Linked DNA regions of Homo sapiens: all the other regions are linked to region 1. The links are contacts of gene promoters, found by promoter capture Hi-C in blood cells and fetal thymus (Javierre and others, 2016). All regions are on one chromosome and are shown on one strand. Each heading gives the region's core, a stretch centred on a gene start or on the middle of the fragment in contact. The rest is flanking DNA. Distances are from core to core; before and after follow the strand shown. Region 1 holds the start of PCNX4-DT (PCNX4 divergent transcript). Region 2 holds the start of ACTR10 (actin related protein 10). Region 3 holds the start of PSMA3 (proteasome 20S subunit alpha 3). Region 4 overlaps SNAPC1 (small nuclear RNA activating complex polypeptide 1). Region 5 holds the start of TIMM9 (translocase of inner mitochondrial membrane 9). Region 6 overlaps HIF1A (hypoxia inducible factor 1 subunit alpha). Region 7 holds the start of HIF1A (hypoxia inducible factor 1 subunit alpha).

What was found. Contacts are between HindIII fragments. The CHiCAGO score rates a contact against its expected background, and 5 or more counts as called.
Region 2: a contact is called between the fragment with the promoter of ACTR10 here and the fragment with the promoter of PCNX4-DT in region 1, in 8 of 17 cell types (activated CD4 T cells, non-activated CD4 T cells, naive CD8 T cells and 5 more). The highest score is 11.3, in activated CD4 T cells.
Region 3: a fragment that was not itself captured here is called in contact with the fragment with the promoter of PCNX4-DT in region 1 in 1 of 17 cell types (fetal thymus); the score reaches 5.1 in fetal thymus.
Region 4: a fragment that was not itself captured here is called in contact with the fragment with the promoter of PCNX4-DT in region 1 in 1 of 17 cell types (fetal thymus); the score reaches 6.4 in fetal thymus.
Region 5: the fragment with the promoter of TIMM9 here is called in contact with the fragment with the promoter of PCNX4-DT in region 1 in 4 of 17 cell types (naive CD8 T cells, total B cells, naive B cells and 1 more); the score reaches 9.7 in naive CD8 T cells.
Region 6: a contact is called between a fragment that was not itself captured here and the fragment with the promoter of PCNX4-DT in region 1, in 1 of 17 cell types (erythroblasts). The highest score is 5.5, in erythroblasts.
Region 7: a contact is called between the fragment with the promoter of HIF1A here and the fragment with the promoter of PCNX4-DT in region 1, in 2 of 17 cell types (fetal thymus and total CD4 T cells). The highest score is 5.2, in fetal thymus.

Annotation. Positions count from the first base shown.
Region 1 is chr14:60,089,849-60,093,941 of GRCh38, reverse strand. It overlaps PCNX4-DT (PCNX4 divergent transcript), which reads left to right and starts at 2,196. Exons shown (of 5, transcript XR_943918.4): 1 at 2,196-2,239. It overlaps PCNX4 (pecanex 4), which reads right to left and starts at 2,019. Exons shown (of 11, transcript NM_001330177.2): 1 at 1,523-2,019. RefSeq lists enhancers at 1,192-1,825, 1,789-1,978, 2,069-2,198. The HindIII fragment of the contact is 2,213 bases long and covers 745-2,957 here.
Region 2 is chr14:58,198,092-58,202,184 of GRCh38, reverse strand. It overlaps ACTR10 (actin related protein 10), which reads right to left and starts at 2,036. Exons shown (of 13, transcript NM_018477.3): 1 at 1,891-2,036. The coding sequence starts at 1,967. RefSeq lists enhancers at 1,654-1,843, 2,464-2,593 and a silencer at 2,004-2,393. The HindIII fragment of the contact is 4,366 bases long and covers 1,678-4,093 here.
Region 3 is chr14:58,244,092-58,248,184 of GRCh38, reverse strand. It overlaps PSMA3 (proteasome 20S subunit alpha 3), which reads right to left and starts at 3,342. Exons shown (of 11, transcript NM_002788.4): 1 at 3,244-3,342; 2 at 353-435. The coding sequence starts at 3,264. RefSeq lists enhancers at 2,869-3,318, 2,433-3,330, 3,499-3,698, 3,739-3,788. The HindIII fragment of the contact is 2,580 bases long and covers 464-3,043 here.
Region 4 is chr14:61,764,361-61,768,453 of GRCh38, reverse strand. It overlaps SNAPC1 (small nuclear RNA activating complex polypeptide 1), which reads right to left. Exons shown (of 10, transcript NM_003082.4): 2 at 1,419-1,578; 3 at 1,102-1,242. Among named protein-coding and RNA genes, the nearest start is that of SNAPC1, 4.0 kb to the right of the region's middle. The HindIII fragment of the contact is 1,111 bases long and covers 1,537-2,647 here.
Region 5 is chr14:58,425,092-58,429,184 of GRCh38, reverse strand. It overlaps TIMM9 (translocase of inner mitochondrial membrane 9), which reads left to right and starts at 1,654. Exons shown (of 6, transcript NM_012460.4): 1 at 1,654-1,793; 2 at 1,943-2,131. It overlaps KIAA0586, which reads right to left and starts at 1,466. Exons shown (of 31, transcript NM_001329943.3): 1 at 722-1,466. The coding sequence starts at 920. RefSeq lists enhancers at 1,195-1,384, 1,455-1,504, 2,519-3,462. The HindIII fragment of the contact is 11,466 bases long and covers 1-4,093 here.
Region 6 is chr14:61,713,074-61,717,166 of GRCh38, reverse strand. All of the region lies in intron 1 of HIF1A (hypoxia inducible factor 1 subunit alpha), which reads right to left. It overlaps HIF1A-AS3 (HIF1A antisense RNA 3), which reads left to right. Exons shown (of 3, transcript NR_144368.1): 2 at 150-198; 3 at 1,339-1,609. Among named protein-coding and RNA genes, the nearest start is that of HIF1A-AS1, 19 kb to the right of the region's middle. The HindIII fragment of the contact is 2,514 bases long and covers 447-2,960 here.
Region 7 is chr14:61,693,740-61,697,832 of GRCh38, reverse strand. HIF1A (hypoxia inducible factor 1 subunit alpha) reads right to left here and starts at 2,320. Exons shown (of 15, transcript NM_001530.4): 1 at 1,994-2,320. The coding sequence starts at 2,028. HIF1A-AS1 (HIF1A antisense RNA 1) reads left to right here and starts at 2,010. Exons shown (of 2, transcript NR_047116.1): 1 at 2,010-2,126. RefSeq lists silencers at 1,862-1,961, 2,262-2,561 and an enhancer at 2,632-3,001. The HindIII fragment of the contact is 8,611 bases long and covers 1-4,093 here.

The DNA of each region.
Region 1 (4,093 bases), core at 947-3,446:
TACTCATTAGAAAAACACAAACTGAAACCATAATGAGGTACCATTTCAAACCTCCTTGACTGGCTAAAATAAAAATGGCAGACAATAATAAGTATTCATGAGACTGTGGAGAAATCAGAACCCTCAAACATATCTGGTGGTTATGTAAAATGATACAGCTCCTTTGGGAAACAGTCTAGCAGTTCCTCAAAAGGCTAAACATAGAGTTACCATATAACCCAGTAATTCTACTCTCAGGTATACACCCAACAGAGATAAAAACATATATGTCTACACAAAAATCTGTACACAAAAGATTCATAGAAGAAATATTACTAACAGCCAAAAAATGAAAACAACCCAAATGTCCATCAATGAATGGATAAATGTGATATATCCACACAATGAAATTAGACTATAAAAAGGAATGAAGTACTCATACATTCTACAACATGGCTGAACCTTGAAAACACACTAAGTGAAAGCCCGTTACAAAAGGCCACATATTGTATTTTCCCGTCTATGTGAAATGTCCAAAATAAGCAAATTTATGGGGACAGAAAACAGATTAGTAATTGCTTATGGCTGGTGGGGTAAGGATAATGGGGGGAGGGAGGTGGTGACTGCTGAGGGTAAAAGGTTTCTTTTTGGGGTGATGAAAATGTTCCAAACTTGACTGTGGTAAGGGTTGCACAATTCTATAAATGGGTGAATTGTATTGAATGTAAATTACATCTCAATAAAGCTCTTAAAAAAGAAAAAGCTTCCCTGATTGGTATTTTCCACAGCAGTTAATAATTAGAAGGCAGCTCTTTAAGTAGGAAATTTAGGAGCAGCCAACAGATGCTACAAACAGTTAAATTCGTGAAAAGGCAACATCTGAACTGGATGCTATGCTAAAGGTCTGGGGATTTGGCGTGAGTGGCGGTGGATACCAAATAACATGAAGGGCAGTCTTTGCCCTAACTGCAGGAATGATTTAATGAAGAAAACAAACACCTAAAAATAGTAAAAAATGAGTAAGTGAAAAATGATGGATACAGAGCAGATAACCAATTCAGCGGCATGGAAAACAACTTCCGATTCACTGGAGTAAATTCTGGTCCTGGAGAGACAAGAGGTTGTGGGGACAGAGGTCGAGATCAGTGGGGAAGGAGCGCTTCACGTTCAGGGGGCCATGAGTTGAACAATTCGGACAAAAGAGGTTTAGTTGGAGATATTGCGAGAGTACAGTTCTACCTAACGGACACAGCTCCGGGTGGGTGTGCCATATTCCATTTCGTACGAGTCTCTTAGAAACAAAATGCTACAATTCAACAGGCTAAAGTAGTCTTTCAAAGGAAAGTTAAAATCACACTGAATTACTATCTCTAATGACTGAGTTCATTAAGCGCAATAATTGCACTTAAAGGTTTTGCAACGAAAAACGAAAAATATGTTTCTTGTGGCAATGAAAGCCCCTAGAACAACTTGGCTCTCCGCACAGGCTTGGACATTAAGATGCCGAAGAAGTCCCGAGGTGGACGTCGGACAACGAACGTACCTCAAGTCACCCGAGGGAAGAGAAGACGCGAAGGCATCCCAGGGACCGCATTTTTGCAGGTAAACTCGGGCTGGGCGCTCCCGCCGGGAGGTTGGTTAGTGCCCGAATGCGGAGGCAGAAAAGCTGCGGCGGCCGAATAACGAGCTCACCGCGGCCCCGCCCGGGCCAGCTCTCGGTTTCCATGGCTAACGTCTACTCCGGCGGCCGCCACCCGGAGCTGAACGGAGCGCGTGCGCGTTCGGGGACCTCGTCGGCGCCTGGCTGGCCTCGCTGCCCCGGTCTGTGCTCGCTCCCGAGGCGGGCCCTGCCGTAAAGCAGGCTTGGCCTAGAGGAAGCAGGGAAATAGCGCGCTTCGTTCGCGCCAGGACTAGGCCAACATCTGCCTGGCCGGGGACGACGGGAGTCGCTCGTGCTCTGGTCTCGCACTGGGCCTAGCAGAAGCAGCAGCGGGGAAAGCCGAGACGCCCTGAACGTTCCCTTGGGCCGGGCCTTTACGCAAGAGCGTCGTTGCCCTGGTGACGTGACGTCCTTCCTCAGGATTGTGCGCCGGGGTGGGGAAACAGACGTGCAACCGCCATTTTGCGCATTAATTTACCAGAGGTCGGGTCAGGCTGTCTTAACGCAGGCAGAGGGGTGTGGCAGATCTCCAACCGCTCGGGGTCCCGTGATTTCCATTAATGAATTCGCACACTGGCGTTACCACTCAACACACCGACGGTAATGAATGTTTTTGAGTGATACTTCATGCAGCCTATTCGGCTTGGACGATTGGGGACTGCATAACGTGATCGCTATCGCCTCAGTTTGTGGCTGCGTTTTAAAATACAAGGAACCAACATGTCCATTATAGAAACGTGTTATTAAGATATTAATAAAACAAGGCAGAGTTCCGGCGTTCCAATTAAAAGGCCATGGCTGATTCATATTAGTGTGGCGGGAATCTTTACAGCCTGGCCGCAAAGACCCCAATTAACGCTAGTTAAAAAGTTATCCCTATACCCAGGGCTCACCTCCCCCATTCTCCACGAAATATGATCCCCCCCCCGCCCCACCAAGTTCTGGACACGTTCCAGATTGCCAACTGGGAGTCCTCAAGACGGCCCCGGAGAGCGTTAACAATGATTGGTCTCAGCTGATTTAGAGGCTCGGGTAAGGGAACTTTGAAGCTAACTTGTCGGTATCAAGGTACCCGCAATTCCCCCATGTGATTGGGTAGATGCCCTAGCAGTTCTGCACACTTCAGCGTCCAAGATGACTTGTGGACTGTTTTGTTTGGATCTCCATTCCTCAAAACTATAAATGCGGCCTTAATTTTTTTTTTTTTTTAATTCTTGGCTCTTGGCTGTCTTGGAAATGCTGACTTTGTATTTAAGTATTTAGGTTTTCAGGTCGTAATAGAAAAATAATTACTGTGTTCATATTAAAAGCCAAAGCTTTATTTATTTATTTTTAAGATATTGTGTCCAGAGCAAAAGTGTAGTGTGTTGAAAGCATGTGGAAGAAAACCCCGGATATACATATACTTGTCTTCAAGGACTTAATTTGCAGGTAGACCCTTTCATAGTTTGGTATCTTCACGATTTGATAGAATATGGGAAAACGTGCTGTTGGTCCATCCATAGTTTTTCTCATTGAAGCTCACTCATTGCGGGTCAGAGTACCACATTAAGCATCTCGGAAGCATCACTTACCGCCAAGAAGTCTGAGTTTCATGTAATTAAGAGTGGAGGCTCCAGAGTCAGGAAGTCTGGGTTGAAACCCTGGCACTACTGCTTACTACTTGTGAGATCTTGAGGTTATGTAATTTCTCTAGTGCTCAGTTTCCCCATATCTTGTAAAATAAGGCAAATAATAGAACTTAACCCGCAGAGAGTTATGTCATTGGATTAAATCAAATAATTGTAAATTGCTTAGCAGAGTAAATGGCACAGCTTAAGTGCTTAGTAAGGATGAGCTATTATCTTTATGTAGAGAGTCTGTATTTATGCTTGTTCTTCTCATGGGCATTACATATGACCCAAGCAGAATTAACATGTTTATTGTTGAAATATCTGCTGTTTTTCAAATATATTTGAACATCGTGCTTTCTTAGAATAAAATTAGTAGGGCATATGGTACAAGCCCTTTGGTTAGCTGTGTATAAAATATTCATTCAACATTTATTGAAATAGTGAAGGGAATAGTGGTTCCTATTTGTCAGGAACTACACTAATTGCTGCAGATATAAAGTCAAATAAAACATGATCCTTAAGGAATTTACCAAAATATAACTTGGACATCAAGGACATAACTTGAACAACAAGGACATCAGTAATTACAGTGTATGTGATAAACAGGTATGCGCTGAGCTTCAGAAACAAAGTGGGACACATAATTCTGGGGAAATTAAGGATGGTTGCAATCCATTTTTAAAGGGTGAGTGGACAGCTGGGCCAGGCGTGGTGGCTCTTGCCTGCAATCCTAGCACTTTGGGAGGCTGAGGTAGGAGGATCGCTTGAGCCTAGGAGTTTGAGGCAACATGGTGAAACCCTGTCTCTACAAAAGATACAAAAAATTAGCCAGGTGTGGTTG
Region 2 (4,093 bases), core at 787-3,286, 1.9 Mb after region 1:
TCCATCATTCTAATATTGTTAGCTTCCATATTGGTGTATTCACTTTCAGTCTACTTCTTATGATTATGCATATATATTTGACATAGTTTTAATCACACTTCATACATAATTAACTCATACAGTAAGCTTCTGCCCATATTAACATAATCTTCATTGCTATCACTTTTTTTTTTTTTTTTTTTGAGGCAGGGTCTCGCTCTGTCGCCCAGGCTGGAGTGCAGTGGCACAAACTCAGATCACTGCAGCCTCCGCTTCCCAGGCTCAAGCGATCCTCCCCCCTTGGCCTCCCAAAGTGCTAGGATTTCGGGCACGACACTACCGCCGGCTAAATTTTGTATTTTGTGTAGAGCTGGGTTTCCCCATGTTGCCCAGGCTGGTCTTGAACTACTGGGCTCAAGTGGTCAGCCCGCCTCAGCTTTCCAAACTGCTGGAATTACAGTATTATTTTTAAAACCACATATTTCATTATTTTAAAAACGATGCTCTTTTCTTGAGTATTTAGGTATTTCCATTTTTGTTTCATGTTAGTAAAACAAAAATTTGCTAAAAACGTTGCTAAAAATGATCATCATACTAGTTTAGTCTTAACATCCTGTCTTCTTGTCCTGTCTAGTTTTTGATACTGCTCTCCTCGTATTCCCAAATAATTCTCTCCATCTCCTCCTATTCCCGTCTCCATGTTTACTTGCATCAGTGCTCCTCAAACATCTCAGAATGCAAGCCATTAGACTTCAATTCCTTTTTTTTACTTCATACATTTATCTTATCATCCTCCTGCTGTCTTTTTCAAATATAGCTTTTTGCTTATTTCTTCCAAGTACAGCCAAAATAATTATCTTTGACTAGAAGCCTCGAACTGTTTATTACGCTTTCAAAATAATTTTAATAAGAAAATATAAATAAGGAAGGGCCTCGCATAGAACAATAAGAGAATGTCATTAACCAAGGACTATGTTTAATCCAATTCTGGAGTTCCTGGGGTCCAATTTTTAAATAGGCTCTTTTAACCACTTAGTCAATAAATAGTTATTAAATACCTACTACACGTCAGGAAGTGCCTAGAGATATAAAAAGATTTTTCAAATGTTTCATTTTCATAAATACATATATGATGTAATTGCCTGTTACTTCCCTCTCTGTTGAGCCCATCACAAGGACTCTTAATCTAGGGTCCCAGGACCACATTGATTGTCTGCCAATTCCCTGAAACTGTGTATAAGTACCTTAAGATTTGTGCATTTGTGGTTTTCATCCAGCCATTAAAGAGATCTATGCCATCCGAAAGGTTGAGAACCTCCTCTCTATTGTTTACAAGTTGGTTTGTTTAAAACATGTCAAATCTAACCTTCGAGTTTAGGGGAGCCAACAAAGGATTTCCAGAATCTTATCTATAGGGTTTCACCTCTTAATGTGCCCAGTCTCCCTAATTCTTGAGCAGCGATAGCCCTGTCTTAAACATCTTTCCATTTTCAGCACCAAAATAAACTCCGTTCAATATTTTATGATGAAATTCGTCATCGAGCATTTACATTCGGTTGGCTGCCTTCCTCAACTGAGGAGCCCAGGGTAAGCGGGGTCTAGGTCACGGTTGTCATCCCCTACACAGATGATCCCAAAGGGTTTGTTGGGTTTGGGGTGATGACAAGGGGCGGCGACGAGGGCAATTCAACAGAAGCTTTCTGGGCCTCTCTGGGAGTCAGACCCCGATCCTCGGATTCGCATCGCCCAGGGAGGAAATAATAAGAGCTGTTATTTGCAAGGGCGCTGGTTGAAGAAAAGGGGAGGCCCGGAGCTGCCCAGCGAGTCGGCGATGAGGACCCAGGCAGTGCCTGGGGCTCTGCCACCCGCCCTCCCCTCGGGTCGAACACAGCTGGCGTCACGGCCACTCACTTGGTAAAGGCCTCTCCCAGGTCGATCACGACCGCCGTCTTCTCCCCGCCGCTCCCCAGGCCCTCGTAGAGCGGCATGGTAGTAAGGCAGACTGAGAGAAGAGGGTCGCAGTCTCCGCGGCCAACAAGTCTCGGCGCTCGCGGGGCGGGGCCGGGGCTCCGGCGCTCGGGCGTCGGCGACGGCGGGGGCCTCGCGCGGCCGCGGCGCGCCGGGCCCGGGCTGTCCCAGGCTGTGCCTCATTCCGCGTTGGACCCACCCTTGCAGGTGCTGCCGTCGCCAGGACTAGGGGAAAAGAGGCGCTGGCGGGCGCGAATCCGAGTGCGGGGGCGCGGAGGCCGCGGCGATCAGGCGCGCCGGTCGCCCTGAGGGGGCGGAGCCGGCCTCCCTATCCTTCCCTCCCACCACGCCCCAAAGCCGCACCCACGCGCGGCTGTGAAGAGGTTCGGTCTCAGCTCACTGTGAAGAGGTCACTGAGGACCTGGCTGCCAAGGGGCAGCCGAGAGACGACGCAATTCCGAACCTTTGATTCATGCTCTTGGGGGGCAGAAGATGCTGAGACCCTATTCTGTGCTAGGCGTTTTGCCTAATATTTAATCTTCTCAAGAAATAACAAGAATATGTGTTTTCTTATCTGTGGGGACCGACGCTCAGAGAGATTAACTTTCCCAATGTCCCACGGCAGAGCCAGGAACAAACCCACAGACTTCCTAATTGCAAAGCCTATGCTAATGATGCTTTAGAGAATAATACGTACAGACAATACTTTAGTTAGTAGTCTTTCTGAAAGTTTTTATTTTACTCCAGAATTAAGCAGCTAGAGTAGCGTCTGTGAATCTTGAATCTGTCCATAGAGGAGCGGTCGGGATGGTTTAATAGAAGAAACATTGAAGCAAAGGCCCCTATTAGGTTGGTGCAAAAGTAATTGCTGTTTTTGCCACTACTTTTAACATTTACATTACTGTTTACATCTTTGTCACTTCACAGCTTTCTGTGAAAATATTTTTTTCCTGCAAATATTAGCTCTAACTGTATCTATGCATAGGAGTGGAAAAGACTGTCAAAGGAGAGGCTGTGCAATAAGAAAAGAGGTTCAAGGGTAAATCGGTGAGGACTAGCAACATTTAGCTGGTGTACTGGGTTGAATGATGCCCCCCCCCCCAAAATTCTTGTCCACTGGGAACCTCAGAATGTGACCCTATTTGGAAATAGAGTCTTGGCAGATGTAATCAAGTTAAGATGAGGTTATACTGTATTAAGATGTCCCAACTGTCCGAGCGCAGGATCACACCTGTAATCCCAGCACTTTGGGAGGCCGAAGCGGGAGGATCCCTTGAGCCCAAGAAGTCTAAAGCGGCAGTGAGTCGGGATTGTGCCGCTGCACTCCAGCCTGGGCAACAACAAGAGTGAGAGCCTGTCTCTCAAAAAAAAAAAAAAAAAAAAAAAAGGCCCTACTCTAATGGTTGGTAACTAGAGTTAGCGGGGTAGTTGGGGATAAGCTATTTCCATAACAAAAACTAAGGCTGTAACAATGCAGAAATTTGGAATGTGATATTAGTAAAATTCATGTTTAAGTCCAAATTACTGATCAATGATCCTCCTTGAAAGCAAATTCCTGGAGACAGGAGAATGAAGTTGGAGTTGTGACGGGGAAGAAAACTTTAAGAAACGTGGGAAGAGATTAAATTTTTTGCTTAATAGAGTCAGATTATTTGAATAGGACCCCTTACTTGAGTTCAGATTCTGTTTCTGCCACTTTCTGTCAAGTCCCTAATACCTCTGATCGTCCACTTCCTTATCTGTAAACTGTTCTGCTGCTTCACAAGGTATTTGTAAGGATCAATTTGAAATTATGTTTCTGAAACTATTGAAATGATGAAGTTTGTTATTACCTATTCTATGTTTTCCATGACAGCTCACCAGCTGTATTTGTTAGCTAGGGACTGCCGTAACAAAGTACCACAAACGGTGGTTCAAGGAAACAAAAAATTTATTCTTTCACACTTCTGGAGGTGAGAAGTCAGAAATCAAGGTGTCAGCAAGAGCAAGGTCATGCCCTCTTTGAAGGCTCTTGAGGAGGATCCTTTCTTGTCTTTTTTTTTTTTTCTTTTTTTGAGATGGAGTCTCGCTCTGTCACCCAGGTTCGATCTCAGCTCACTGCAGCCTCCGCCCCACCAGGTTCAAGTGATTCTTCTGCCTCAGCCTC
Region 3 (4,093 bases), core at 504-3,003, 1.8 Mb after region 1:
CATTTAAAACACAAGATGTATGAGAAATAAAAAATAACAAGGTCACAAACCTAATGGCTGAGGAAGCCTATGATACAAATCAAGAATTTGAAAATGGAAAACAAAAAGATGATAATGAATGTGATTTATACACTCTGCAACATGGAAAATCTAAGTGGATAATCCTGGAATCAACGAGAAATATAGGACTGGGGCTCATGGAAAGCATCTGGCCTAGAAAGAGATCTGGAAATGAATAAATTGAGATTTGGGGACATATACTAATTTGTACCAAAGTAACATAACAAAGCCTAATCGCCAAAAATATATAAAATAAAAGGAGACATGTAATACCTGGTTAAATGTTTCTTACCTACTATTTTCCACAGCCTTCATAGCATATTCAACTTGAAAAACTCTTCCGTCAGGAGAGAATGTAGAGGCTGACAGGTCATACTTAAGGAGAAAAGGGCAACAGTAAGCTTGTATCTTTGGCAGTAATGACCATACAGTTTCTTCCCCTCTAAATGGCTGAAACATCAGGAACCTGTTATATCCCAACAAAGACCTTGCTTTCAAGAGAGGAAAGGGAAACTTGTCAGAGCAGCAACAGTAGCTAAGATAAAGCTATATACCTTCGATTTCAGCTATTGAAGAGTAATGGATACAGGTCCCAGGTGAAGTCAGAACACTTTTCACCCAGACTACAAAACTCATTTTTGAAAAAGATTAATATGGGGCAGTAGAACCAGCACTGGAGTTCGAACATTTAAATTTGTAACGATAACTCTGCCATTAACAAACTAAAAGACTTCAAACAAATCATTCGGCATTCACCAAGCAGTTAATGAGTATCTATTATGTTACTATACGGAATACAAAGGTATACTCATTCATTAAGTCCTTCAGTTTCACATCAGACATGAATCTAGGTGCTAGAGGTACAGCAGTAAATCAGAAAAGGCACTAAGATGAAAATAAAAGAGTAAAGCAATGAACTACTACAGACTACATCATCAGGGAAGGCCTTCTGGGCAGTTATATTTAGGCTGAGTCAAACCTAAATGACAAGGAGCTAGCCATTTAAGATATGAAGGAAAAGTCTTCTTGACATTTGGCACAAAGATCTTAGGGTAGAAATAAGGCTAGCACAGTCAAGAAACAGAAATAAGGTCACTGTGTCCCAAGCACTGTAAGCAGCAGAAAGAAGAGTAAACTGTGTTAGTGAGGTAGCTGAGGGCCAGATTATGTTGTGTCTTCCAGGATGGAAAAAGGACTCTGTATTTTATTCTAAATGCAATGAGAAATTTAAGCAGGGGGAGTGGTATCATCTATATTTTTAAAAACATCATTCTGGCTTTATGCGGAAAATAAGCTGTAGAGAGAACAACAGAAGCAAAGATAAGGTGTTCCAAAGATAGCGGTAGTAGCTTAGACGAGAGAAGAGGTAGAAGGGAATATTTTTTGAGAGTAGAGTAAAATATAAAAATAATAAAAATAAACTTGCTAGGCCAGGCGTGATGGCTCATGCCTGTAATCCCAGCACTTTGGGAGGGTGAGGCGGGCTGATCACAAGGTCAAGAGATGGAGACCATCCTGGCCAACATGGTGAAACCTCATCTCTACGAAAAATACAAAAATTAGCTGGGCGTGGTGGTGCGCACCTGTAGTCCCAGCTCTTCGGGAGGCTGAGACAGGAGAATTGCTTGAACCTGGGAGGCACAGGTTGCAGTGAGCCAAGATCGTGCCACTGCACTCCAGCCTGGCAACAGAGCAAGACTCCGTCTCAAACAAAATAAAAATAAAAAAATAAACTTGCTAAAGCGTTGGTTCTGGGAGTAAAGTAAAAAAAGGAATTAAAGATGAATAACAGATTTTTTCATATGACCATTCACTGAGCTGAAGACTGTAGTAGATGCAAAATGGCAAGGTGAGGAGAAAACCCAGAGCTCTACTTTCACATGCAGTACGAAATGACTATTAAACGATCAAGTGAACAGACATGTCAAGCAGACAAACAAATATTCGTATCTGGAGTTCTTGGGAGAAATGAAGACAGAAGAAAAGCCTTCAGCAGTGGTACTTTCTGAGTCTGTTTCCTGATCTGTTAAACCCAGATCATTAACCCTACCATTGTTACTAAAATATCCCACATGGTTACATTATCAAGTATTCTTTAAAAGGTTTGTAGAATGAAATACTATTAATTCAAGGTAATATTAATATAATTGCAAAGTCAGTTTGCTACAAGATTTAATATTGAGCATTTACTTATCCAAGAAAAGTATGGCAGAACTTTAGCATTCATAACTGAATGGATTAAACCATTCCAGACATAAGTTGCCTATTATCAAATTTAGAACACCGGTACTTGAACTTAAGGCTGAGCATGAGAATCTTGTTAAGAAGTAGAAATTGAGGAACTGAGAAACTCATTATTCAATAACTCTAGTGCAAATAACCAATAAATCTTTTAGAAACTGTATTTTCTATATAGAGAAGTACATAAAAGGAGTAAACTGACTGCACATATGCAATACGTTTAACAAAGGAAAGCCAAACAAGTTAACAAGTCCCACTGCAAAATCCTCAACAGTCTATGAAAAGTCTGAAGCTGTTAAGTTCCTAAGTAACCATTTAAACGTTTACGGAATAAATGCCTACAAGCGCTGTTAGGTAATTTGTATAGGAAAAACGAGAAAGGAAAAACTGAAGGATTCATCAGATTGTTTTTCAGACCATTTTTATTAGTTCTGTTCCGACAGGATTTCCAGTGACTCTTAAACTGAGCGGTCAATGATCTGCACACTTAAAGACAGAGAAGGCCTGTGAATCAGCAGCACCCTAGGAACTGCAAACGCAGTCCACAAAAAGCACGATCTCCAGACCCCGGAATCCCAAATCTCACTGCCTCGGTGGTTCTCAAGAGAACACACTATTTCAAGCCCCACGAGTTTCCACTTTCGGTTTCCCTAAGTGGCTGAAGAAAGTGACTCAGCAATCCAAAGCGGCTCCAAACCTCACTGCGGCGACGCCAAGCCGGCTACACCTGCGCTGAAAAGCTTCAGGAGTCACGGTCACCTGAGACGCAGGCCTAGCATATAGGGGATAAAGACGACCGGTCTCCAAACAGCTGCAAATGGCCCACCCAGCCGAAGGCGGTCTCAGAGCACCCCGGGTCCGCGAACCCCATGTGGTCTGTCCGAGTTCCCTTCAACCCCAATCCTTAGGTTAAACTATTACACCGACAGACAGCGAACTCACCCCAGTGCCGATTGAGCTCATCGTGCTAAACCCAAAGGGACGCGTAGGGATTCCAGGCCCGGAGCGCTTCCCCTATACCACAGGATGCCGCAAACTAGTAACAGGCCCGCTCATTGGCTGAACTGCCAACCAATAACCTTTTTCTCTGTGGCTCGTTCCGCGGCTCCGGCCCCCAGGACGAGGAGTATTGTGGGAAAAAAGCGGGCCGCGAGAGGCTGGCGGCGCGCATGTGCAGAAGCAATGGAGGCGGGGTTGGGGAAAGCAAAGGCTCCTCCTTCGGTTCGCGTACTTTGAGCCGCTTGGCGTCGTGGTATCTGAGAAGCTGCTCTATTCCTTTCCTTGGAATTATTATTTATCTTTTATATTATTATTCTCTCCTCACTTTATTCTTTCTTTAAGCCAAAGGGAGAGATGCTGGTATACTCTCACAAAAAGTAGAAAAAGCAGTAGGCGCGAAGTAACCTGTCTTCCTCCGCGTCCCGACCCTGACCCAGAATCTTGATGGCATCCACTTCACCTCCTTGTGCTCAGGCTCTCGTGAAGTTTCACTTAAAGGGTATCGTCTTTGAATTCAGCTTAGAATTTTACGGAAGTATTAGTGCTCTTTCTATGAGTATAACGCTTTTTGGTAAGAGTTAAAGATAAGTCTGATTAAAGATATTTTTTGAGCGCTAGTATATTCCACGTGTTCAAGAAAAAGCCGTGAACAGAGCATACCCCCATTTCTAATGTAATTTCCATTCAGTGGGAATAAATAGGTAACAATAAATAAGCAAAATAGTAAGAAGAAAGAGTGCTTTAATAGACAATGGAGGTACTAACTTTAGGCAGTGTGCTCAGGGAATGACTT
Region 4 (4,093 bases), core at 843-3,342, 1.7 Mb before region 1:
TCACATGCCATGCCACATGCCTACAAATTCAGATAAGACAGAAATTACATAATTTGCCAGCTAATGGCAGAACCAGAACTAGTGCTCTTCAACCTAGTGTCTCAATTACCACTAGATTAAAAAAAAACAAATGCTATTAGAAGTTTCAACTTTTCACCAAAGAATTTTTAACAATTTTGTACGTCTTTCAGTAACCTCCTCTGATGTTTGAGACATGAGCAAATGCAGATGCCAAATCTAATTTGTTCTCAAAACAGTTCGCTTAATATGTGGCACCCAGATACACTGCATTTAAAAAGCAAAGGCTAAATTTTTGCTTGCAGAAAAAAAAGTAGTAATTAGAAAATACCTTCTCCTATTTTAAAAAAGCTACAAGGCCGGGCATGGTGGCTCACCTGAGGTGAGCAGCACTTTGGGAGGCTGAGGCGGGTGGATCACCTGAGGTCAGGAGTTCAAGACCAGCCTGACCAATATGGTGAAACCCCATCTCTACTAAAAATACAAAAATTAGCTAGGCGTGGTGGAGGGCGCCTGTAGTCCCAGCTACTCAGGAGACTGAGACAGGAGAATTGCCTGAACCCTGGAGGCGGAGGTTGCAGTGAGCTGAGATAGCACCACTGTACTCCAGCCTGGGCGACAGGGCAAGACTCTGTATCAAAAAGGCACACACACACAAAAAAAGTTACAAGCCAGGCCGGGCGCAGTGGCTCACGCCTGTAATCCCAACACTTTGGTAGGCCAAGGTGAGTGGATCACGAGGTCAAGAGATCAAGACCATCCTGGACAACATGGTGAAACCTTGTCTCTACTAAAAATACAAAAATTAGCTTGGTGTGGTGGCGCATGCCTGTAGTCCCAGCTACTCAGAAGGCTGAGGCAGGAAAATCCCTCGAACCCGGGAGGCGGAGGTTGCAGTCAGCCGAGATGGTGCCACTGCACTCCAGCCTGGGCGACAGAGCAAGACTCTGTCTAAAAAAAAAAAAAGCTAAAAGTCTTGAACACTATCAATACTTATTCCATTTTCTGGAGATTGAGAGGTTTTATGGACAATAAAGTATAATTGCTCATTTTGAAAAAACCAAATTATTTTAGGCAACATACCAATTTGGGCATTGCTGTAAAGTGAAATGCTCTGTCTAGTCGTAGCTTCCTAAAAATATAAGCTGCATCAAAATGCTGTGCATTTACTAAATCTTGCTGAAATTTTAAAACTTCATCCCAATCCTTCAGGGCAACTCTGATCTGCAACCAGGAAGAAAAAAAAGTTGTACTAAATGTAAATATTTTTTCACAAACATATTATAATTTTAAAATACTGGCATTTTATTTAAATCATATTTAATCATATAATATTTATTATAAAAATATGGTACTTGTTTTACATTTCTGCTAAGGAAAAATAACTCACTAAGTATTACCTTTTGTTTTGGTTGACACAGTTGGGTATTATATAATCCATATAGCAGATACAAAGCACCAACTCTGATCTGGAAGGTGTATGGAGGTAAAAAATATCGCCAAGCCAAAGCTAAAGCTTCTTTTGTAAACATGTTCTTTTCTAAATTTCTCATTCTGCCACTAATAAACAGAGAGAAAATATATTACGACTCATTAAGTGAATAAGTAATGAACAAAAGCCAAAAGTATATACTTGTTTAAACGGTAGTTATAATTTGATGAGGATTCCATACCTGATTCTTTCATGATTCAAGCACAAAGAGATAATTTTACACCAAGGCAAAGGCAACTACTAGGTAAACATGACGCAGCTTCCAAAAGCATCAACTTTACTTGCCAAATTGAAGAGCAAGAAGGAAGGGGTTTCAAATTACTATTGGTTAAATATTTAAAACCCATAATGTTAAAATAATCATGGTTATGTTACAGAACTATGTGCATTTTAATATACAATTGCCAAAAATGCTTGTTCTTTGGTGCTATAAAGAAGTATCACTTGAACGTAAATTTTATTTCTTCAGCAAGGCCATTTTTTTACTTTCTGCACAAAAGGGTACAGTCGCCAGCAGTTTTGCTACACTGAACAAAGGAGACAGGGTCATTTATAACTTGACACATCTACTTTACTGCTGTGTCCGGTTTCTATTGGCTGGAACGGGACTTCACATTCTGTATCTGTCTTCATTGACTAGCAACTTAGAACTTGAAGTAACTTGTGGAATGCTGAGAAAGGTAAAAACACTTTTAAATAAGGAAGAAGAACAGGCTATGACTTAATGCTTGCTTGGACCAGTATAAGCACGCCAGGGCAAATATTTAGGCTAAATTGTGGGAGCTAAGAACATAAAATACACTGATTTCTTTATTACAGCTAGCAGATATTTAAGAATGTTAGCATAGGTCTTTGAATAAATTTTGCTTCTAAGATAAGTTACTATTTAGTCTTAATTAGATGGGGAGGAAACTCTTTGAAGCAGAACCTCTACTTTACTTTTTACCTAACGAACATTTTCTCCAATACTCTCAGGGATTTGCACTAAATCTCCTCTGTCCTTGCGAAGCCGAGGCGAAAAAGATAGAGAAACAGCACAAAGTAACCCGCACTCCTAATTGTCCAGAGCACTGCAAGCTCATCAGAAGAAAGGAGGAGGAAGGGAGAAGAGCATACTCCAGCATACAACCAAAAGCTTTGTCCAAACATCCAAGAGAGCAACAAGGCTTTGTTGGCAATCAATCAATGAAATAACATAGGAAATGTACATGAAAGGAAAGTATCTTGGGCACCCAAGATCACTAAGGAAAACTCAAGCTGGAAACTGCTTAGGGCAAACCTCTCCCATTCTATTCAAAGTGACTTCTCGGCTCACTGAGATAGATGCATATCTGATTTGCCTCCTTTGGAAAAGCTAATCAGAAACTCAAAAGAACGCAAGCATTTGTGTATCACCAATCTGTGACCTGAAAGCTCCCTCCCCACTTCCAGTCTTCCTGCCTTTGCTTCAAGTTGTCCCGCCTTTCCAGAACGAACCAACGTACTTCTTGCATATATTGATTGATGTCTCATGTCTCCCTAAATGTACAAAACCAAGCTGTGCCCTGACCACCTTGGGCGCATGTCAACACGACTTCCTGAGGCTGTGTCACGGGTGCGTCCTCAACCTTGGCAAAATAACCTTTCTAAATTAACTGAGACGTGTCTCAAATTTTCGAGGTTCACATATATTTTCTGTGGATATAAACAGCATAATGAATAAACTATCTGAAACTGTTCTGCTGTGCTAAGTTAACAAAAAATTTTAAAAAACAAGGCCTTAAAAAAGTCAATGTAACAGTCTTCTTACCACTTTGGATAAAACAATGAAGCCACATTTGTGCATATTATAGGTTTCTATGTAAGACCTGAAATTAGTAGATAAAAAATGCCAGATTTTAAATAAAACATTAGCTAAAATAAATGTCTCAAAGTGTTGATGCGAGTGACTAATACGCTATACAAATATAAATATGTAGAACTTTTACTTTAAAACCAGCAACAAACAATAAAGACATTTGCCCTGCAGCCATAAACACGGGCTCTATTATATCTGATTACAATGCAGGGGTGGAAGGGAAGGGGGTAGTAGGAGGACATTTTGGGTCTTCAAATAATAAATATAGGAAAAGAATACAAAATGCCTACTCTAGTTACGGTAACCAAAGTAATTTCTCAAGAAAATCCACCACTCTAGTGATTCCTGCTTCTTTTATCATTTTAGGTTCTCCCTACTAGAAAATGTAAATGTTACATTTTTAGCTTTTTCCTTAAATGCATTTTTCCCCCCAAGAAGTGGTACAGTGGAATATTAACGGATTTTAGAAACAGGCAGATACATAGTTTCCAACATCTGCTCTACAATCCACTATCTTTGTAATGGTGGAGAAATTACTTAACCTCTTTAAGCCTTAATTTCCTCATCTATAAAACAAGGATAATTATACCTGCTTTTTATAACTGTCTTATGCAATAAATAAAGCTATAAATAAATGGCATGTAGTAGCCATTTAAAAAAAAAAGTCTCTCTCCTTTTATTAACTGTACAACAAACAGCTCTTCATCCTCCATTCCTTGCAATTTAAAAAACTACAAAGGTAATTT
Region 5 (4,093 bases), core at 405-2,904, 1.7 Mb after region 1:
GTTGATATTTGGGAAAATAAGGTTCGGTACTGACAATAAAGTGAGATTAAGCACGAAACATTTTAAAATATAACCATACACTATTGGATGTGGACAAACTATGGGTAGAAATATGTATACGATGTAAAGGTCTAATTTAACAGCAGTACTATTTGAGTGTCACCGCTGTATCCCCCAAAGAACAGCATTACAAAAGCGTTTTGCTGTTTTTGCTCACATATTCATTAATTTAATCCTCACAATTAGCAGCGAAGTGGGTAAAGCATATGTTATCCTTATTTTCACTGAGCTCTAGACAGATTAAGTGAATTGGAATATAGAAGCCATCAATTGGCAGAAGTCCTGCTTTTCCCACTATGAAAAGAAAGTAGTGAATTAGGTAAAAAGCACTACTTTGGGGGAAAACTATAAAAAACACTACGTGGGGGAAAATAAAGCACATTATACAAGTTAAGTGTATCCACCATAAATATAAAAAAAAAAATATGCAAAAGTCAATGCAAAAAAAAAAAAAAAAAGCACAACAGGGGACGTTAAAGTTTCATTCATTCCATCTATTCAAACATTTTATAGGCTTCCTGGCCATTTTCCCGGGAAACAGGGTCAGTTTTCAAACATCTGTACAAACTAGACTTATATCTTACGTTTGGGAATTTAAACAAATAAGGACTAAAGATTTACTAAACTAAAACTGGTTGAAAAACTACATGGAATCACATACCACGTGATGTTCCATTCAAACTAGTCCCCGTTCCAACAGGAAGACGTTTATTTGCAGACAATGCCGGAGGAACACAGGGCAACTCATCTTTCAGCAAAACCAAATGATCTCCATGATTTTGAGAAACTACCTCACGAAGTCTCTTCACTGGCATCTTAATCTTTTTTTTCTTCTCCAAGCTGACCTCAGAGCCTTTCATATTGTTGGTCACAAAACAAGTCCCACACTTAAGGACGGAAAAACTTTCTCTGTTTCCTTAAGACTTCAGAACAAAATTTTCACCTCTTTGCAATAACTGTTTTTAAAATGTCGAACATCCACAAAGCTGAAAATCTAAATTCTGATATTGAATCCAGGATTAGAGCTGACTATAAAGTCATATTTACCCATTAATCCCACTCAGTCTATTAATACACCACGCCAAAATGTGAAAGTGGGGATGACAAGAGAATGGCCACAGGAGCAACAATAACCATAACAGTGCACTCCCCAACCCCAGAGCTGGTAGGGCAAAACCAAACACATGTAGTGGCGGGCTTAAAATTTGTTGAGAAGAGGCAGTCAAGCAAATAAAAGCGAAATGCTATTTTTAAAATAATGACCCACATAAGAAGCGTAATAGCTTTCTTCAGCCACAGAGTCTTACACACCCCTCCAGATGCAATCGTCGGAAACATAAATTCACCCCTACGTATCTCCAGAACGCCCGAGACCCGCACCGTCGTGGGTGTAATCTGACAACAGCGTCAGTTGCCCGCAGGTCAACACCCACTTCCCTTCAAACCCGCCCTTGAGACACAACACGCATGCGCGCCAAGAAACTCACCCAAAACATCCAACCAGAAAGCTAAGCGCTCTCTGGTGCTCTTCCATTCCTCTCCGGGTGGAAACAAACTCCGGACATAACAGGGGTTTATTTATTTATTTATTTTAAGGTAGCACATTGCCGCACAAGACCGCTCTACAGTCTCATCCAAGACTTGAAGAGCTCCCGACTTGTAATACTACTTGTGTTTACCAGGGACTGTTGACACTGCTTCGCTTCCGAAGACCGTTAGGGACGTGGGATTAGGTAAATTAGGCTTCCAAGAAGTTTCGACAGATTCGGGTCATTATTGGAGAGGAAGTCGGGAATAGAAAGCGTTGTCTAAGCAGAAAATAACCGAAGTTAATCCTTAGGAGATTTTAGAATTCGCTGATGGTACCTGCTTTTTCTTCTAGATTTCCTCGCGTTATAACGAATCGGCGTCTAAGGGTTTAAGTGTCACTTGACATTACTGCTCCCACGTGTTCTTTCCCATCTGGCGGCCGCGGCTCCTGTCCAGACCCTGACCCTCCCTCCCAAGGCTCAACCGTCCCCCAACAACCCCCAGCCTTGTACTGATGTCGGATGCGAGAGCCTGTGCTTAAGTATGGTGTCTGTTCTCTGCCGTGAGAATCCGGGGTTCCCGGACGGGGGGTGGCAGGCTACGCTCCAGGAAAGTGGCGGGGTCTCCCGAGGAGGCCGCCGCACGTACCTGGAGCAGTGGGGGGTGCGAAGCGGGACAGCGCTTCGCCGGGTCGGGTGCAGACCTTCCTGGAGATGGTGTCACCTGGGCGAGGGTAGGAACTTTAGGCCCTGAGCCACCCCCAACCCGGATCTGGGGAGTCGGGGTCCTGTTTTGGGACACTGAATTAGACTATAAGGTATTTACGATGTGACCTTGAGCTGCCCGGGGGAAGATCCTCCTTTAAATGAAAATCGTCTTTAGACATAATACCAGGTCTAACACCCCTTCCCTGATCTGCTCATTTCCCAGGATGCGCTACTTAGAGCTTTCCCTTTACGCCTTACTGGAGGCTTTAGAATAATCAAAGCAGAAAATGTAATCCGATCTAAAAGCTAAATAACTAATTTTATTTCTTTTACATCTCGGCAGTCTACCTTCATAGAAGTCTAGACTTAAAATGGACTTTAAAGTCTGAGCGCGGTGGCTCACGCCTGTAATCCCAGCACTTTGGGAGGCCAAGGCGGGCGGATCACGAGATCAGGAGTTCGAGACCAGCCTGGCCAGCAAGGTGAAACCCCGCCTCTACTGAAAATACAAAAAATTAACTGGGCATGGTGGCGCGCGCCTGTAGTCCCAGCTACTCAGGAGGCTGAGGCAAGAGAATTGCTTGAACCCGGCAGGTGGAGGTTGCAGTGAGCTGAGATCGCGCCATTGTGCTCCAGCCTGAGTGACAGATCAAGACTGTCTTAAAAAAAAAAGAAAAAAAAAGACTTTAAGGGCTCAGCGTTAAAGACCCTTTTAATTATTATTTTTTTGTAACTTGCTGAGTTTCTCTAATGAGTTTTGTGTTGTTTTTTGAGACAAAGTCTCACTCTGTGGCACAGGCTGGAGTGCAGTGGCGCGATCTTGGCTCACTGCAACCTCCGCCTCCCAGGTTCAAGCGATTCTTCTGCCTCAGGCCTCCTGAGTAGCTGGATTACAGGCGCCCGCCACCACGCCCAGCTAATTTTTTTTGTATTTTTATTAGAGACGGGGTTTCACCATGTTGGCCAGGTTGGTCTCGAACTCCTGACTTGATTCACCCGCCTCGGCCTACCAAAGTGCTAGTATTACAAGCGTGAGCCACCGCACGTGGCCATTATTTTTTATTTTAGTTACATTTTCTCTTCGTAATTGGGCTCATAGGTGGTACTTGTTTGTTCACAATTTATTGTATATTATGAGTGTACTGAAAGAACTACAATGTCAGAGTCGCCAGAGACCTTGGAGATAGTTTAACTCTTACCTTCTAGGTGAAACTTATGTGAAAGAAACAGTGACCTAAGATCTGAGTGTAGGCACTCTGAATTATTAAAATGACAACTTAATTTGGATCTTACAGCTCTTTGTCATTACTCTTTAGTTCCTTTCCCTCTTTTTTTTTTTTTTTCCAGAGACAGGGCCTTGCTCTGTCATGATCATAGCTCCCTGAAGCCTTCAACTCCTGAGCTCAGGCAATCCTCCTGTCTCAGCCTCCTGAGTAGCTAGGACTACAAGCACTTGCCACCACGCTGGCTAATTTTTTACTTTTTTGTAGAAACTAGGTCTCGCCTTATTGCCCAGGCTTATTTTCTCAGCTCACTGCAACCTCTGCCTCCTGGGTTCAAGTGATTCTTCTGCCTCAGCCTCCCAAATAGCTGGGATTATAGGCACCCGCCACTCTGCCCAGATAATTTTTGTGTTTTTAGTAAAGATGGGGTTTCACCATGTTGGCCAGGCTGGTCTGGAACTCCTGACCGCACGTGATCTGCCCACCTCAGCCTCCCAAAGTGCTGGGATTACAGGCGTGAACCATCATGCCTGGCCTTATTTTCTCACTCTAAATCAGCCCTCTCAACCCCTT
Region 6 (4,093 bases), core at 454-2,953, 1.6 Mb before region 1:
CCCACAGAGATGAATCCTGTACTATTTGTTTTACTGCTTACATTGCACAACAGAAGATATGTAGATCAGAAAGAAGTACATTTTCCACATGCAAATAAGGTCACTATATTTCTCTAAATTTTATAAATTGCATCTGTTTTGTTTTTAAGTACAGGTCAAGTGAAGTTCTTCTGCTGATATGTTCTGCTACTGCATAAGGTACTATATTTCAGTTAAGAGTACAGTTAAAACAGTTTGTTTACCCATTTCTACAACTGTTCTAGAACTAAAGTTGGAGTATACTACTGGCAAAATAGCTCAATCTTTGTGGTATTGTAGTTTTTACATGCTTACCATTTTATTATTTAACATACAGTATTAGACACAAAAGTAACAATTATATCTTGAAATTATTTTGTATAGGAAATATATTTAGAAAAATAATTTTGAGCCCGTCTTATTAAGCTTCTTGTGTACAAAGTTCATGAATAAGCAAGAGTTGTTTTATAGAGAATGTCTATTGTTCTTCAGATTAAGAACATAAAATATTTAGTGCTTTGTAGTAGGTCAGTAAAAATTAAAAAAAAATAAAAGGACACAAAATAATTGTAGGCATTTAAAGTCATCTTTTCGTATTGCACAAAAAGCCTGTTAGCATTCCTAATTGTAAAAATATGTGACTTCAAGAACTGAAGTTAAACCATAACTATTTAAAATGTGAGCAGATTATCAGATTTACTTCTAATAAAGTTAATGTACCTCAATTATGTTATTTGGTGAAATAACTCTTTCTGGCCTTGAAGGTACAAGTTGGTTTTTGTTGTTTTTGCACTTGCGTCAGTATTTCTACAGGACTGACATTCTGAAGTGAAATTTCATGATATAAAAAATGTGCTACTGAAATTTTTTAAAATACACAATAGCTTTCCAAATGGTTCTGTGCCCATTTTTGTCTCTGCCAGTTCATGAATGTGTATATCAATTCCCCCATGCACTCTGCAATATTATATATTACGCATCTTTTTAATCTTATTAATTTCTGCTGAGCTGATAGGTGAGAATTATATCTCATCATTTTAACTGCCCTGCACTTCTTAAAGTCTCAGGCCCAAGAAAAATGCAAAGAAAAGTTCATGTTCACTCTTCAGTTGGCATTTTTGCCTGCAGTTTTATTTTCATTTTATTTTAGAGACAGAGTCTTGCTCTGTCACCCAAGCTGGAGTACAGTGGCATGATCATAAGCTCACTGCAGCCTCGAAATCGTGGGCTCAAGCAATCCTCCCCCTCCCTACCTCAGCCTCCCAAGTAGCTACAGGCACACGCTACCATGCCCAACTAATTCTGTTAAATTTTTTGCAGAGACGGAATCTATGTTGCCTCGACTGGTCCTGAACTCCTGGGCTAAAGCGATCCTTCTGCCTTGGCCTCCCAAAGTGCGAGGATTATAGGTGTGAGCCACCCAACCTGGCCTTTGCCAGTATTTTTAAATCCAAACACCTATGCATGGTGCTTACTAATAACACAGTGGTATTCTAAACATTTTTCACCTATTATTTAATCTTTATTATTATCACCATGTTACAGATAAGGACCCTGGCTAAATAGCTTACCCAACATTACTCCGTTAATAAATGGTAGAACCTGTATTTCACTCAAGCAGTCTGGTGTCCACGCGATTAACACTAGACTATGTTGTCTCTCAAAAACTCATCCTGATTACCAAGGCAAGTATTTGTAAGTCTAGGCTATTATTATAAAGTTCGAAATTTGCCTACTTCACATGCCAAAGACATAAAGAAGGAATTATAGGAGTTGGCTTCAGAATTTAGGACTTGACCTAAGCTATTCAGAGAAACTCAGAACCAGGCTCTTTCTTGGAGTTTGCTTATAAATCCAAAATCCTAACTGAAAGGCACCTACAATGGTAATAGATGCTCTCTGCTCTACTGTCCAGCAGCTCTTCAAAGCAAGGTAATCCCTTCCGGTAATGCCAATCATTATGGCGAAAGAGTCAAAAGATGGTAATTCAGTCTATACTCCCAGTAGACTTTATTTGTACAGAGCAGCTATTTCAATATCTAAGTTCAACATTGTTGGTGTTTTACTTGCTCAACATTTGTCTAGCAGTCACAGAAACTGTTTTTTTTTTTCCTGAGACGGCATTTCACCCTTGTTGCCCAGACTGGAGTGCAATGGCGCGATCTCGGCTCACTGCAACCTCTGCCTCCTGGGTTCAAGCAATTCTCCTGCCTCAGCCTCCCGAGTAGCTGGGATTACAGGCGTGTGCCACCACGCCCAGCTAATTTTTGTATTCTTAGTAGAGATGGGGTTTCATTATGTTGGCCAGGCTGGTCTGGAACTCCTGACCTCAGGTGATCTGCCCACCTTGGCCTCCCAAAGTGTTCGGATTACAGGCGTTGAGCCACTGCGCCTGGCCCTTCCTTGTTGTTTGTACTCATTTTTAAAGTTATTCTAACTTGTATTAGGCCAAATTAATGAAGAAAGGCTTAAGTTTTTAAAATATTAAAAATATTTTAGATCTATACCTAAAGCTAACACACATACTATAATGATGCAGTCTCCTAACATGAGGTGATTTTCTGAAACTAACTGGTTTTTAAGTGGGAAGGGTTTTGTCCTCCAGAATTTTGTATAATGGTGGCATAAACACTGGAAGGTAACTCTCAAGGTCTAATCCTCAAGGTTTTTAATTCCATCATTTCCCACAGGAAAACAAATGGAAAATCCACCAAGTTCTTGGTTTGTATTTTGCAGCATATTTGAAGGAATTTTAGGAACTGAAATACCAGCAAACGAATAAACAAAAAGTATAACACCATCAGTACTTACTAAAACAACATCTCACATTTCCATAAGAGAATTCAGTTACTGTTCTTTTTCCTTAAATGGCTTTGAGCATTGTCTTGCTGTTTGCATAAGACTGTTTACTAACCTGAGTGTTTTCACAGATTTGGGAAGCTTAGATTTTTGAACGTTCCAGCAAACATTCAATTTGGTGTCAGCTTGACATTAAGATATACTCCTTACACACAGCTCTACTCTATATTTCACAATGTGCTCAGTTAATCTACTTTGATTCTATTTTTATAAATCTAAATAATCTCCTATTGTTTTGGAAAAAACTCTCCAACAGCTTTTTTCCCCCCTCTGCTCCCACACCACAGCAATCAACAACACAGAAGACAACTTCTGCAACCCTATCGGGAGAGGAGGGGTTCTCTCCACCACCAGGTGAGCAATCAGTTCTGCAGCGGACACCAACTGGGTGTCCTTCAATTCAATTCTAACACTATCTACCTGGAGACAGTGTCAGGTTGAGGGCTCAGTCCCCAAGACTGCCCCCTCAACAGGAGTTGCAAGTCTGGCCTCAGGAACTTCTGACTGACAGGCTTCAAAAGTTGGGATTCTCACAAACCCATCTTTGCTGGAGCAGCTCACAGAACTCAGGGAAACATGTTTACCAGTTTATAATAGAGGATATTAATAAGGATACACATGAAGAGATGTGTAGGGCGAGGTATGGGAGAAAGGATGCATCTATCAAGTACCATGCACTGTGCTAGGTACTAGAAATATAGTGAGAAGTAGAATAGCCTTTGAGCTTAAATGGCCTCCCACTCCTTAGTCTACTGAAATAGTCACCTAATGCTTTATTCCCAAATGCTTGTCTAGCTGCATCGTGAAGGACATTCAACATTTCAAATTCCTAGGCCTCACTGGGAATTTGAATCTGTAAATTCTGATTCAGTAGATCTAAGTCAGGATCCCAAAATCTGAGTTTTTAAAAACTTCCAAGATGCATATGATACGTAAGTTTGGGAACCACTAGCTGATCATTATTGCTAACCACTGTTACTCTGCTTTAATTTCTTTCTGAAACCATCACCATAAAGATCCTTCCGAAGTAAAGAAATTTGGCATTATGGCCTGATTAAAATCCCATTAAATGTACACAGGACAAGGTCTAATTATTTAAAAGGAAGCCCTCCCTTACCTAGTTCCCTGTCCACCTCTTTATCCTCATCATTTTCCACATTCTTCAGCCACACTGCAGTTACTCAAAAGCACCATAGTATTTCCTTTCTGGCTTGCT
Region 7 (4,093 bases), core at 1,071-3,570, 1.6 Mb before region 1:
TTGCTTGAAGAAAATCTCCGTCCCTCAACCTCTCAGTTATCTTTCAAAAAACTGTAAATTAGTTAGAAAAGGTCATCTATTATAAACAGCATCTAAAAGTGCTGAGTAACCACCACTTATTAAGTGTTTAACTTAATTTTTCAGTTATATCAAGAACTTCTATACTAAGAAATATGAATCCATCCAATCCAAGGTTGCCAAGTTTTCAAATGAGAAAATTTTGAAAGTAACAGATGGGCTGAGGAAAATCTAAGAGCTTATTTAGAATTGGGGCTGATGAACAGTAGCTAATTTATTAATTCGTTTCAAAACTGCTTCTGATATTCTGAACGGATGAATGGCAAAACAATGAGTTCGATACTGTATATAAAAAAAGTGGTACATAATTTAATGCATTGTATTAAGTATGATTCAATATATAATAAGGATAGAAAACTGGCACTACACAGAGGTAATCTGCCTTAGGTTTACAATATAGCAGCTTTATCATTTCATCAAAAGCACTGTAATCACCTCCGCAAAATAAACTGCAATTAATTCCTGGTAACTCTTGGAATTAATCTAGACCTGTTTGCTCACTTTTTGAATTTTATAAGTGACCTTCTCTGCTGTATACAAACTAAGAATTTAATATTCTATTGAAGAAGGACCAGGAGAAGGGATCTACAAAACAGCAGGAATATAAACAAGTTTATCTTCTGCTGATACTGATTAGGGAAATTAATCTCTCTGCCAGAAGAGTGGAAGGATTTAACAGCAAAGCCAGTCTACTAACCAAAACTCTTACTCTAAATCTTCAATTCCTTAAGTGATTTCCTTAAAAGTTAAAATGCCAAAGTGGGCAAAATTGTGTGTGTGTTGGGGGATGGGGGAGTCCGCTCTTAACACCACTGGTCCAACTCACAATTCTTAATCTCTAATGTACCCCTTAGACTCAAACTTCAAGGTGATTTATAAAACTTGCATTAAGTTCTAACCGAGTGATTACTTACTTTAGATATATGTTGACGGTTTTCCTTTAATATACTTCAATTTCAGGAAAATGAGACAGAGTTCGAAAATTTTTGCAACATTTTAGTGCCGCATTTCATTCACTCATCATATACTTTTTTCAGTATCATTAAAACTGCCTAAATTTAACCAGCCCCTACATTTTCATTATTTGAAGAATGAATGAGGCATATATTCATTTATAATATCTGCGTTCTCGTGACAGGTGATATGAACTCAAGTATCCAATTCTGAAGTTCTCTTTAAAATGTTGCCATTTCCCTAAATTCCCATTACTCTGACTCTCAGTCTAGGCAAGTTTTTCAAGGCGATTAAAACGAAACAAAACCTGCACGTGCAAACTAAAAAGTTCGCATCTTAAGGCCATCGCGGCAAATCCCTAATGCACAAAGGCAAAGACACCCGCGACGGCTGGACAACTACAGGACAAGATCGCATCCGACCACGCGAGTCCCTCAGTCGGGAACTCAAGGCCCCAAGTCCACTGGAAAGCCAGGACCAGCGTGCAGGGTCCGCCCCAGGGCCGAGTTTTCAATGGAACTGGAGAGGATGGGGGCGGGAAGGAGCGGAAGCTCCGGGTGCAAACCGCGGCTACCGAGCTGCAGCTCATTTCTCTTCCCGGGGTTTTCAGGCTGGGTAAAGTCCCCTCCGGATGGGGCCACAGAGCAGGCTGGGTTTTTGAGGCGGGTAGGTGGGCGGCGCGAGGCCCCCACGGCCGGCGGGGAGGGCAAGCAGGGCTCAGACCCCGGCCCCTGAAAGCACTTTCGAGGCGTCTCCCACCCCCCACGACAAGATGGCGACGTGGACAGCGGGGGAGCCCGGCCGGCGAGGTTGGGGGAAGAGAGGGGAGGGGAGCAGCAGCAGAAACAAAAAGGCTGCCCCCCCCAATCCCATTAACGCCGAGGCCGGCCCAGGAGCCCAGGGCGGGCAGGCGGGCGGGGTCGCCGGGGGAGAAGGCGGCGGGCCGAGGGAATGGGCTTACTTTTTCTTGTCGTTCGCGCCGCCGGCGCCCTCCATGGTGAATCGGTCCCCGCGATGTCTTCACGGCGGGCGGCCCCCAGGCTCGCTCCGGCCTAAGCGCTGGCTCCCTCCACACGCGGAGAAGAGAAGGAAAGGCAAGTCCAGAGGTGGGGGTGCGAGGCGGGAAACCCCTCGTGAGACTAGAGAGAAGCGGGCGGCAATCGCCGGGGTCCGGGCCCGGCTCCGAGCCTCTCCTCAGGTGGCTTGTCAGGGCCCAGCCCGACACACTGGCCGAAGCGACGAAGAGGGTGATCCTCCTGTCCCCTCAGACGAGGCAGCACTGTGCACTGAGGAGCTGAGGCAGCGTCAGGGGGCGGGCAAGGGCGGAGGCGCGCTCGGGCGCGCGGGGAGGGGAGAGGGGGCGGGAGCGCGCCCGCTCGCCTGCCCAGGCCGGCGCGCGCTCCCGCAAGCCCGCCTCACCTGAGGTGGAGGCGGGTTCCTCGAGATCCAATGGCGAGCGACGCAGGCGGCAAGTCCCCACCCCAGCCCACGCCGCTCTCAGCCAATCAGGAGGCGGTCAGCTGAGGCACAGCTGGGACGGGCTGCGACGCTCACGTGCTCGTCTGTGTTTAGCGGCGGAGGAAAGAGAAAGGAGATGGGGGTGCGGCTCAGCCCGAGTCTGGGGACTCTGCGCCTTCTCCGAAGGAAGGCGGTGCCCGGCTTTGGGAGGCGCTGCTGAGAAGGGATTTCGGTTGCCTGGTCCCAAACATGCATCATATTTTCCTACTCTTGGTGCAGTAATGTAATGCTCCTGCTCTCTTTCTCCTCGGCCTCAGTGCTGGGCACGATTGCCGCCCAACTCTGCTGGGCTCTCTGTTCAAAAAAGCAGACTTCGCCTCGTGGCAGCAAGCCCTTCCTTTGGTCTCGTTGCTCAGATGTGTTACAACGGGGTCTTTCCTTACCAGATTACCTAACCATGGGTCAATGTCACCCACCGCACTCTTTGCCACGGAGCACAGGGGAACTCACCTTGTCTACTAAGTTTTTCTGTGGCGGAGTTTACTTACTGAATAAATGCAATTAAAAATAAAAATGAACTCCTGTTGCTGTAAACTTCAAGGGAAATAAAGTTGCAGGGAAATCTTAAAATCTGAAACTATGTTAAGCATTTGCAAATAGGTATAAATGACTTTAATAAGCATATAAACCAATTTCAGGGAAAGAGTAGAAAAAATGGCCTTTGGCAACTTTGCAAGCTACTAAACAAAACATAATCACTTTTGTCTTTGGAGGCATAAACTTCAAGCCTGTCAGTCTTCTAAAAGAAAAATATGTTTTGAGCCCAACAAAGTAGCATTGCACATATATCTCCACTTGGCGCTAAATTATTTTACTTCTCACCTTTGCCTTATGAGTTTCTTGTTAAAACCTAGCTTTGGGTTGTAAATATAAATATCTGTAGTGGCTTTCAATTGTATTAGCATGTAAAAACAATGGTCTATATAGAAGCATCAAACTCTGACAAGACAACAACCAATGTATACAGCACCTCTTTTTAACTGGTCAGTAGACCTACAAAGATACGATTAAACATTGACCTTAGCGGACAGGGTGGTTCCAGCTACTCAGAGGTGTGAGGCTGGAGAAGCCTGGGTGTTCCAGCCTAGGGAACGTAGCGAGACTCCGTCTCTTTAGAAAATTTTTGATCTTCACGCTACTTTTGTTTTTTCAGATCTACAACACTAAATGATATGTATTATGTCTTGAAAAGAACCATGGGAAATGCCTGAAGAGAAGAAAGAACTAAAAATAATTACTCATAATTTCTTTTTTAATTGTGGAAAGAATACTGTAAATTAAAAACTTTTTAGTTTAACATTCTCAAGATACTGTGTTAAGAACACTGGCTCCAGAATCAAGCGTGAGCTTGTACACAGGCTTTGAATCTTACTGGCAAGTCGTTTAATCTCTCCATAACTCAGTTTACTTATTTATAAAATGGATATAAAAGTGTCTATACCACAGTATTATGGATGGTTAAATGAGATAATAAATGTATACTTAGAACAATATCTGGTGCATAGTAAGCACTCAGTAAATGTTAGCTCTTAGTATTGTTGGT